Linked DNA regions of Homo sapiens: regions 1 and 3 are each linked to region 2. Evidence: promoter capture Hi-C in 16 types of primary human blood cells and fetal thymus (Javierre and others, 2016). All regions are on one chromosome and are shown on one strand. Each heading gives the region's core, a stretch centred on a gene start or on the middle of the fragment in contact. The rest is flanking DNA. Distances are from core to core; before and after follow the strand shown. Region 1 has its middle 43 kb from the start of SYPL1. Region 2 holds the start of KMT2E-AS1 (KMT2E antisense RNA 1). Region 3 overlaps CDHR3 (cadherin related family member 3).

Evidence for each region. Contacts are between HindIII fragments. The CHiCAGO score rates a contact against its expected background, and 5 or more counts as called.
Region 1: a fragment that was not itself captured here is called in contact with the fragment with the promoter of KMT2E-AS1 in region 2 in 3 of 17 cell types (fetal thymus, total B cells and naive B cells); the score reaches 7.5 in fetal thymus.
Region 3: a fragment that was not itself captured here is called in contact with the fragment with the promoter of KMT2E-AS1 in region 2 in 1 of 17 cell types (non-activated CD4 T cells); the score reaches 5.4 in non-activated CD4 T cells.

The regions. Positions count from the first base shown.
Region 1 is chr7:106,067,570-106,070,916 of GRCh38, forward strand. No RefSeq gene overlaps it. Among named protein-coding and RNA genes, the nearest start is that of SYPL1, 43 kb to the right of the region's middle. The HindIII fragment of the contact is 5,331 bases long and covers 1-3,347 here.
Region 2 is chr7:105,012,425-105,015,395 of GRCh38, forward strand. KMT2E-AS1 (KMT2E antisense RNA 1) reads right to left here and starts at 1,717. Exons shown (of 1, transcript NR_024586.1): 1 at 1-1,717. KMT2E (lysine methyltransferase 2E (inactive)) reads left to right here and starts at 1,781. Exons shown (of 27, transcript NM_182931.3): 1 at 1,781-2,111. RefSeq lists enhancers at 331-700, 790-1,329, 1,121-1,170, 1,491-1,610, 1,871-2,100 and silencers at 1,321-1,370, 1,721-1,810. The HindIII fragment of the contact is 4,615 bases long and covers 1-2,808 here.
Region 3 is chr7:106,019,665-106,023,092 of GRCh38, forward strand. CDHR3 (cadherin related family member 3) reads left to right here. Exons shown (of 19, transcript NM_152750.5): 13 at 709-880; 14 at 2,534-2,784. Among named protein-coding and RNA genes, the nearest start is that of CDHR3, 58 kb to the left of the region's middle. The HindIII fragment of the contact is 3,503 bases long and covers 1-3,366 here.

The sequences.
Region 1 (3,347 bases), core at 279-2,778, 1.1 Mb after region 2:
ATTGCTCCTTGGAGCTGCTCATCCTCAAAGGTACCCCAGGCAGAGGCCAGCAGCGAGTTCAAGGCCTTGTCAAGAAGGTTTTCCTTTAATAATACGCATCCACATACACAAAACACAGGCCTTCCTGGAATTGCCAAAAGACAGCAGCTGCAAAAAGGACTTGGACAAGAAAGTTTATTGCAGCTTTATTCCAAACAACCCAGATGCCCATCAACAGGAGAATGGTAAACAAATTATGGCATATTTATACGATGGAATATTACACAGTTATAAAAACAGCAAATTTTTGAAATGTGAACCTCACAGTCATGATGTTGAAAGAAACAAGACACAGATAAAAAAGTACATATTGTGTAATTCTATTTATAATGGAGTTCAAGAATCAGCAATGTTAATCCTAGATGACGGAAGTCAGATAGCAGTTACCTTTGGGTAAGCATGCTTACTTTGGACTTGGAAGGGGCACAGATAGCTTTCTGGGGCTGTGGAAATGTTGCGAATCTTGGTTTGGGTAGTTACATGGGTGTATGCGTAGATAAACATTCACAGTGATGTGCGCTCAAAATTGTGCATTTTATGGGACATAAATTAAAAACGTAAAAATATTGAAAAACAGAAATTGGAGAAGTGTTAAAGGGTCAGGTTGAATGAGGACTGTCTAACCTGGAGCTGGCATCAGAAACAACTACCAGAAATCCCTGTAACCTGCTTCTCCTTTGGGGTCTGTGAACCGCAGGACTAAGACACTCCCACATTCTGACCCTGGCACCAGCAACAGACTACTTGCCATCGGATTGATGTCGAGAAATGATCACAGGATAACAGCTCTTCTCACGGTTCAGCAGATAATAGTAAGTCAAACTTTTGCCCCAGTTGAACATCCTATCTCTAAGTATACCCCCCATTTCCTCTGAACCCCCCTAAACCATTTGCCAGTCACCCAAATCACCATCTGTGACCACTACTCCCCTGCATTCTACATCCAATCAATCACCAAGCCCTGTCAATTCTCCTTACTTGATAGCTTTAACACTCCTCCACTCCTCTCCAGCCCAGTGTCTTAAATCCACACTAACATCCTCCTTCTAGATGATGCGCCCACCTCCCACCTGCTCTCCCAGACTCCTGTGGTCTTGCCCTCCCTTCAATGAACTTGCCAGCTGCTGAAGGGATCATGGCCCTAAAATGCAAATCATAGAATACTTAAAAGAATTTCTAAACCTCCCAGGATTCACCCAGGCTCCTGGCATGGCTTACAGGCTGTAACCCATGATGCAAACCAGGCTTGCCTGTCCTGACAGCCTCATCTCTCTATGCGGGGCACTGTCCTAAGTGGTAGAATTAATTACAGCAGTGAATGAAACAAAGTTCCTTCGCCGATGGGATTTGCCATTTTGTAGGGAAGTACAGACAACAAACAAACAAATATATGAGATGATGTGGTATACATGTGAAAGACAGAAAAGCAAGATAGGAGACAGGGAGTGATGTGGGATTCTGTGTCAGCTGGGATGGTTAAGGAAGGCCATTCTAATGAGATCACATTTGGGCAGAAGCCTGAAGGAAGAGGCTGCTTGCCACCCCACACAGCAAGGGTGTGCCACAGTCATCTGCTCTCCTGGCAGTTCCGAGAGCAGGCTGGGCTCCCCTAGGCCTCTGGGCCTGTGCACGCACACTTCCTCTCCCTGCAGCATTCCATACCATCAAGAACTGAGATCTTATCTCATGTGCAGGTAATAATCACACATGCCAAAATTTCACGGATGTTGGTAGAAGACATGAGGCTCCTGGGTCAGAGAAGAAGGACAGTTTCTTCACTTCCAGTAATAGTAACAGCCAGAGTGGCAGCATTTTTGCACTGGTTTTCTGACCCCAGGTGACCCAACACCACCATTCAGTGAGATAGATGAAGTCTAAATAAGAGAGTAAACCATTGTGGAAGGCATTGAAACCATAAAAAGTAAGATGAGAACAGTTGAGAAAAAGACACTTAGAATTGACTGCAACATTTACAGAGTTTTGGTGTCAGCAGAGGCCTTAGTATTAGGTGATGGAAGCCCGCCACTGTAAGGTTCCCGCCCTTGAGAATCTGCTCAGGACCAGCTGGTGAGATGGACGTGTCAGCAGATAAATTGCAAGGCTGTGCTCTCAAGCTCTAGTGCACAAAGGACTATGGGAGCCCATAGAATGGGTAGGAGGAGGCCATTCAAGCTAAATCTTGACAGATGGGCAGGAATTCATCAGAAAGACTTAAATATTGGTCTTGAAAATAGCACTGCATACAAGAAAAAAACACATGCATTTATGAGGCAAGAGTCCCTGAAGTTTCACATTTACACAAAATGATGTGTGTCTTTTGGTGGGGGAAGCGGATGTGAAATTCCCTACAGATAAGCCCAGGCTAGCTGACCAGATGAGGTGAGATTTCTTTCAGGTACTGCCTAAGCAATCAATGGCCAGAGAGGGCTGCGGGGCTGGGCTGCTGGGCTGCGAGGCTGCTGGGTGCTGAGGGAGCAGGGGGAATGTTCCCTGGGGTGTGGCTGGCCATGGTGCTCGCCATCCTGGAACAAATCAACTGAGGCGCAAATCTGCAGCACCTTTGCCACAGCCAGAATCCACGGTGGTTCCTCCGTGAGCACATGCCCTGAATTCCACCTGGCCTGTGCGTCATGCTCAGTTGGCAGGATATCAGAACCAATGCTGCCAACACCAGACTCTCCACGTGCGGAGCAATTTATGAAACCCTGGGGCCAGCAATGGCCACCTTTGCATCCTGGAGTTAGGATGACCCTGACACATCCCAGCCCCAGCATACACCACCGCGCTGCCCTGAGGCTGGGCTCTACCTTTTGAGAGCTACTGAGCTCTGCAGAGATGTGGGTGAAGGGAGCCACAGACATATCAGTCTGGCAGGGGCTTAGAGTCACTGCTCTAACTGCCTATCTGGCAGGTGAAGAAACAGAGGCCAGGGCAGGCAAGCCCTGACCAGGGCAGTGTACCTGCTTGGTAGACGAGTTCTCTCCTTCCCCCAGTGCAGTGCCTACTGTCTCTCTTTAGCTGTGCCTAGCTGGGTTGGGGTCTTTTCTCTGGGCTTCCCTAACCACTCCTGCTGACCCCTATCTGAGCTCCAACTTCTCCCTGGAAACCACGCATTAACCTATTACCTCCTCGCTACACTGTGAGTTCCTGAGAGGGGCTTGCGTCTTTCTCATCTGGCAGTTGGCCAGAGCCCCATAAGTACACTCAAGTTGAATGAGCGATTAAATGGGTGACTGCAACAAGCCTGGGCAGGAATGGGTAGTGCTCTTTTTGGTCATGGCTTCTTAAACACAAACAAGGTGGGCTTC
Region 2 (2,971 bases), core at 467-2,966:
TAGGCCTCCCAGAGGCCCTCAAGGACTCCTAGTTGATTCCGAGTCCCACGTCAGGGAACTACCACCTTACATAAGTATACTTTGCGGGGAGAAAGGCAGATAAGAAAATAGGGCGCCAAACCTTCTCCACCAACAGCCGTCACACCCCACGAGGACTGTCCTGCGGGGGCTTTCCCCTGGGAGCCGCAGCTGTTCTGCCGTATGGGGGAGGGGAACGCTTTCCAACAGTCATCTCTTCCTCTTCAGGCCGCCAACGCCGACCGCACCACAGTCTCCTCCGCCCAAGCCCTGTCCCCTCCCCCGCCCCGGCCTGGGTCGGAGCCAAACCCCACAGGAATGCAGCCCGGTCACATGCGCTGCGGCGGTGGACGTGCCTCTCCCCCCGCGCCCCAAAGAGACCCAGCGCCATCTTGCCCTGACGCAGTTACAAAAGTCACGGGAGAAATCCTGTCTCCTCCTCCGCGCCAGCGCCCCAAAGTTTTGCAGAGGCCGAGCCGGGGCCCTCACCTCGCGCAGGGACAGTAGAAAATGGTCAGGGAAGAGCCTTGCGATTCCCTTCGCCACTGCTTGGGTTCCATATCGGCCGCGGCAGCAACGATCACCATCGTCACTTCTCCCTCTCTACCTTTGCAACAGCCTCCCCCTACGGCTTTGGCCCCACCCGCTGCTGCAGGATGAGGTCATCGCCAGCCAACCACGACGCGCCCGACAGGACACATCAGGCGCTGATTGGCTGCCGAGACCGCCTCTGCCTCTCCCCACTCCGCTTCCCCCAGCGCTCTGGGTCGCTGCGGGGCAAGGGGAAGACGGAAACCATTTCGGGGAAAGACCCCCAAAACAAGAGCCGGAATCGCCGTGTCATTTTAGTGGGGAAACCCTTCTTTTATTCTTTGGTCTCCCCCTTTTTTCTTCGAGATCACTGTCTGTCCCTCCCTCGTTTAATCACCGCCATATAAAGGAATTCCCACTCCCCTCCCCGCACATTGTCCCACCGGTGGGGAAATCCTTCCCCGAGGCCAAGAGAAGTATAGGAGGCAGCGACGGCAACTGCACCGACGGCAACGGCAGCTTTTTACCCCGAAGCACGGTGGCAGGGAGGCGGCGTTGACGGTGGCTGCATTTTTCCGGCTGCTTCTCCCCCCGACCTCTTCCGTTTCTTGCTCCTCCATCGAGACAGCACTAGACTCGCCAGCTCCGCTTTTATCCGGTGCCCGGAGCCTGCGCACTGGAGCCTCCTCAGCCCCTAGTGGGCGTCGAGTGACACCCCAACCGGGTTCACCCAGCGCTGGAGGCCAGACTGGGCTGGGGGAGGAGGGGGAGAGGAACGGGGAGACGGGACTGGGGTTGTTTGGGAGGGGGAGAAGGTGTATCGCTTTCGGAGGGTGACGGGAGGGAGTTCGTTCCCAAGCCCTGCTGTCCTTGTTCGTGCACCCAATACTGGCATGCCCAAGCTCACCTATATCCAGACTTGAGGGCCACTGGGGGAAAGGGGGAAAGAACCAGTCCCACCGAATACCGACACTTCCTCAAACCTTCGGTGGATTGTTGAATGCATCTGTTGTCAGAAAGACAGAGATTCCGTCCCCCTCACCGCCTCCAGTTTGCTATCTTCGAGCCTCCGCGGAGAGGCAACGGCGGGCGGCAGCCCACAAGCAAAATGGCGCCGGGCAGCTTCATCCCCTCCCCCTCTGCCCCTGCGGAGCGGGACGGGCGTACCCCGTGCACTTGCCGCCGCCGCCGCCGCCGCCGCGGCCGCCGCCGCCGCCGCCGCCATTTTCCCAGAGCGAGAGGCAGTGACACTGAGCGGGCGCAGGGGGCCGAGTCGGAGACCGTGCCGGAGTTCGGGAGCGGCAACAGAGTGGGCATAGACACTCCGAGCAGCCTCGCCGTCGTCTCTGCGTTCCTGTTGACTGCCTGGCTGCCCCCTCCCCTACTCCTCGGTTCCTGGTGAAGAGGCTGCGCGCTGCTGTTTGGGGAGGGGGTGTGTGGAGCCGGGTCCTGTGTCCGCAGTGGCTGCTGTCGGGGGGTCGCCTGTTCGCGGAGGTGCGGAGAGACTCCTTGGGGGTCGAGCACATAACGGGGTTCGGGTGTCTCGTGTGTGAACATCACAGGTTAGTGCCTGTCGTCTCCATGGGAGTTCCTGGGGCTTGCGGGGTTGGGGTACTTGTGTTTCAAGGGGGAGGGAGGTCTCTCATCTTTATCCTTAAGCTGGGGGAGCCGACGTTGACTCTCAGGTGTCTTTGCCGGCGCAAGACGTTGCTTGCTTAAATCGAATTTATTCTTTCTTCTCCCTGACCCTAGAAATGGAGCATTATGGCGGGTTTTAGGGTTGGGAAAGGGGTAACTGGCAGTTAAACCCCCTTGAGAGTGGGGGAGTTAGGGAGGGGGCGCACTCCTCATTGGCAGCGGGTTAAGGCCGCTTGAGTGAAGACGGAGGCTTGTGACTGTTAGTAGGGTTTGTGTCGAAGTGGTCCCAGGAGCTGCCAGCGCTCCCTTTTCTCAACCGCGTCTTGTTCAGGTGCTGAAAAGCCATATAGGCCCCATTTTCTTCTTCCATTTCTTGACGGGCAGTCTCTGGTATAATGTGCACATGAATACGAAGGGGGTAAGAAGAACGCCCTGGGCATCTCTCTTTGTGGGAGAGCGAGACAGCTAGCTCCTCATCCTCTCCTGGAGAGGGTAAACCCGCCCCTGAAGTGGTCACCCCAGTACCCAGCCTTCTCAGTCTCCTCCCCCACTCCTTTTGCATTACCGCCGTCCTTTACTGTGCCGGAGCCTTAGGATCTACAATATGGCTCATTTCAGAAAAGCTTATTTTGACCAAGGGATTGGCACAAATTCTATGGCAGCAGACACAGATGAGAAACAAACGGTTCACTGTGCTAAACGGGGTGGGGGTGAGAAAAAAACAATCCAGAGTGCTCTCTTCTACTGGCCTTAGTTCCGTATAGATCCGTCCTTGCTGGGCTCT
Region 3 (3,428 bases), core at 365-2,864, 1.0 Mb after region 2:
GGCTGGCCCCTGCTTATGGCAGGTTAGCTCTAGGGCTTAGTACAGTGCTAATAGCCCAGGTTACAGATGAGATCCCAGCTTAACCAGGCCTGCTTGTTCTGTCCCAGTGAGTCTTAGCCCTGGCTGCATATTAGAATCAGCTAGGGAACATCAATGAGGGCCCTGACCCCCACCCTCCAATCTATTGGTTCTGAAGTGGGCCCAAGAAAGCAGAGCCAGGGCTGAGAACCATTTCTGCATATGCCAGAGTTAAAGAAGTTCCATTTACAAGGGGCAGCAGGCAAGGTGGCACATGGAGACACCGTAAATCCACACCTTCCTGGAAAAACAACTCGGTGTCATCTGCAGGTGAGCCTATGTGTCCAGGTGCATGTGTGTGTGTGTGGGGGGGGGGCAAGGTATACATACACTAAATGTGCACACACACATGCATATGGTGTAGAAGTTAATAGCATAGGATTTGGAGTAGGACAGACCTGAATTCAAATCCCAACTCTGCCATTCACTAGCTGAATGATCTTAGATCAATTACCTAGTCTCTCTAAACTTCCATTTTCTCACCATAAAATGGGAATAATCATGTTAGCTATCTCATGTGAGTTTAAATGAGCTAATTTATGAAAAGTGCTTAGCCTGAAAACTGCCTACACACAGTAAGCACTCAATGAGTTTTAGCTATTGAGAATGACCACCTTCTTGCTACTCTAGGTTACTGTGAACATCCTTGAAGAAAATGATGAAAAGCCAATTTGTACTCCAAACTCTTATTTCCTGGCCCTCCCAGTGGATCTGAAAGTTGGCACAAATATTCAGAATTTCAAGCTGACATGTACCGACCTTGATTCCAGCCCCAGATCTTTCCGTTATTCCATTGGCCCAGGTATAGTACTTGGTGTCGACAATCCTGGCCCTGTCTCTGAGGACCCTGAAGTTGTCTAGGGTAGGGGTCTGTGCTCACACACTGATCTGGGCAAAGTGGGATGGGAGTTGGGAGGGCATTATTTTTTTGAGATAGGGTCTTGCTATGCTGCCTAGGCTAGTTTTGAACCCCTGGGCTCAAGTAATCCTCCTGCTCAGCCTCCCAAGTAGCTGAGACTACAGGCATGCCTCATTGCACCCAGCTTGCTGGGGAAGTATTTGAATGAGGAAAGCAGAGACACAAAATCTAGCAGCCCCTATGCTTCCTGGCACTCCTCTCAGTTTCCCCTTCTTGTCTTACTCCTCCCAGACCCCATACGTGACTGCCCAAAGGCCCAAGAAAAGGGTGAACCCCCCAATTCCTGACTACAGTATGAGTCATAAAGCATATTAGTGTTGTTAGAAAAAATGCAGTCCAACTTTTCGACCACCTCTTTTCCTGAAAGCTGGTAGTGGGGGCAGGGAATCCCAGTCCTCTCTCTGGATAATAATAGATTAAATAGATTAAGTGCGTTTTGAAACGTGTCCTCAGGAATTCTCTTCTGCTCCATTCATCTTCTGTCTTTAAAAATATACCATCGTAGGGAAAAAAGAGCACCCCTCAATGGAAATTAGACCAAAATAGCTCATCTAATGAAGTGCTGGGGCCAGAGATTTAAACCCAAACAAGCAGAACAATTCCACGTGAGAGAGTAAAAATCCATCCCTGCTGCCTGCTGTGCCCTTGGCCGAGCAGGAACTTGAACAGTAGGAAGCCTCTCGAGCTGGCTGTGTCACAAAACCCAGGGGCAGAAACTGCCTCGAGACTGCAGTTGCCGAAGATGGAAACAATCCATACTGAGAGCCCTAAGGCCTTTATGGAGCATTTTGCTGTTAAGGGAGCAAAAATTGCATCATCTCCTGCTCCATTTACTGGTGTTCAGTCGGTAATGAGTCTGGAGCCAGTGGAGGAATGAGCGGGCATGTGCTTGGGCTGGCAGCCTCTCTGCCCCAGGCTCCCTGAGCTGAGCCATGAGCCCCAGCAGAGCTGTGTGTGTGTTTGGGGGTGTGATGGGGTGGGTTCAGGAGGACCTGGGACTGCAATTCCCGCAAAGCCAGGAGGCACCTTCCTTTGGAGGACTCCAGGGACAGCCATAACCAGTGTGACCCACTGGGTCCTGTGAAAAGCATGCAGTGAACTTGGCCTATGGCTAGGGATGTGACCTATTCTACCCTCTTGAAACCCACTCATTTGTTTGAGTGTGAATTACACGTGTTGTTACCAAATAATTGCCGGATGAGAAATCAGAAGGGGCTGCACCAGGGTTACAAAGTCTCTGCTTAATACTCAGCAAGATGGCACCTAGGCTAAGGGTGTTGTACTATTGTCCTTTTCTACTCAGCCTTGTTTGCAGCCACACTGGTTGTGAGCAAGAGTTTCTTTGTACTAATGCCATCTCTGGTGCAGTTAAAGCCTGTAGCATATAACTAATCCAGCTCTGGTGTATCAGAGACACAGTCTACACTTGAGGTGTGGACATTTGAGAAAAAGATTGAATGCAGTTTTCTTCTAAACCTTTATTTCTTACTCTCTTTTCTTCCTTTTACCAACACCCCTGCATCAAATCTCATTTAGGTAACGTCAACAATCATTTCACCTTCTCTCCCAATGCTGGTTCCAATGTCACACGCCTGCTGCTTACATCTCGCTTTGACTATGCTGGTGGGTTTGATAAGATCTGGGACTACAAGCTACTTGTCTACGTAACTGATGACAACTTGATGTCTGACAGGAAGAAAGCGGAGGCTCTTGTTGAGACAGGAACAGTGACACTGAGTATTAAAGTCATTCCCCACCCAACCACTATCATCACCACGACCCCCAGGGTAAGGGCTTTAGGACCTGGAATCCCCAGGCACATTCCCTTGTGAGTTATGTTGATGGACTTCTTTCCCCGGCCTGGAGGTATGTGGGGTGGACTGAAGAGTTGAGGTATTAGGATGTTGCCAAAAATGGCAACCATGGGCTGGACTGGAGTAGCTGCAGGGTGGCAAAAATCTGGTGAGACCTCAGACTCATAACCGCTAACTCAACCACTAACATTTCCTGTTCTGGTAGAGAAGAGTGTGTTGTTTGTGCAGAGACTTGTGAGAGATCAGACCTCAACCATCTGTGTGGCTTGTGGCACAGGAGCTGATTTCCATGGGCATGCTGCCAGTTGCTACCTTCACAACCCCTCTCTGCTTGTTCAGAAGAGTCTTTGCAAGTCAATATCCATGAAATTAGGTTGCTTGCTTACTGCTGGGTGCTCTTTCCCACATCTTTTGAAGAATCACCAGGTACCAATCTGTACCCTACACCCCACCTCCGCTCCAAAAAAATTCATCCAATCTACAAATATCGATTTAATGCCTATAGTGTGCCAGTCACTTTAGCAAACAAGCCAAAAATGATCCCTGCTCTCAGAAAGCTTATTGTATAGGCGAGTGATTCTCTAAGTGCGGTCCCTAGACCATCAGAATCAGCACCA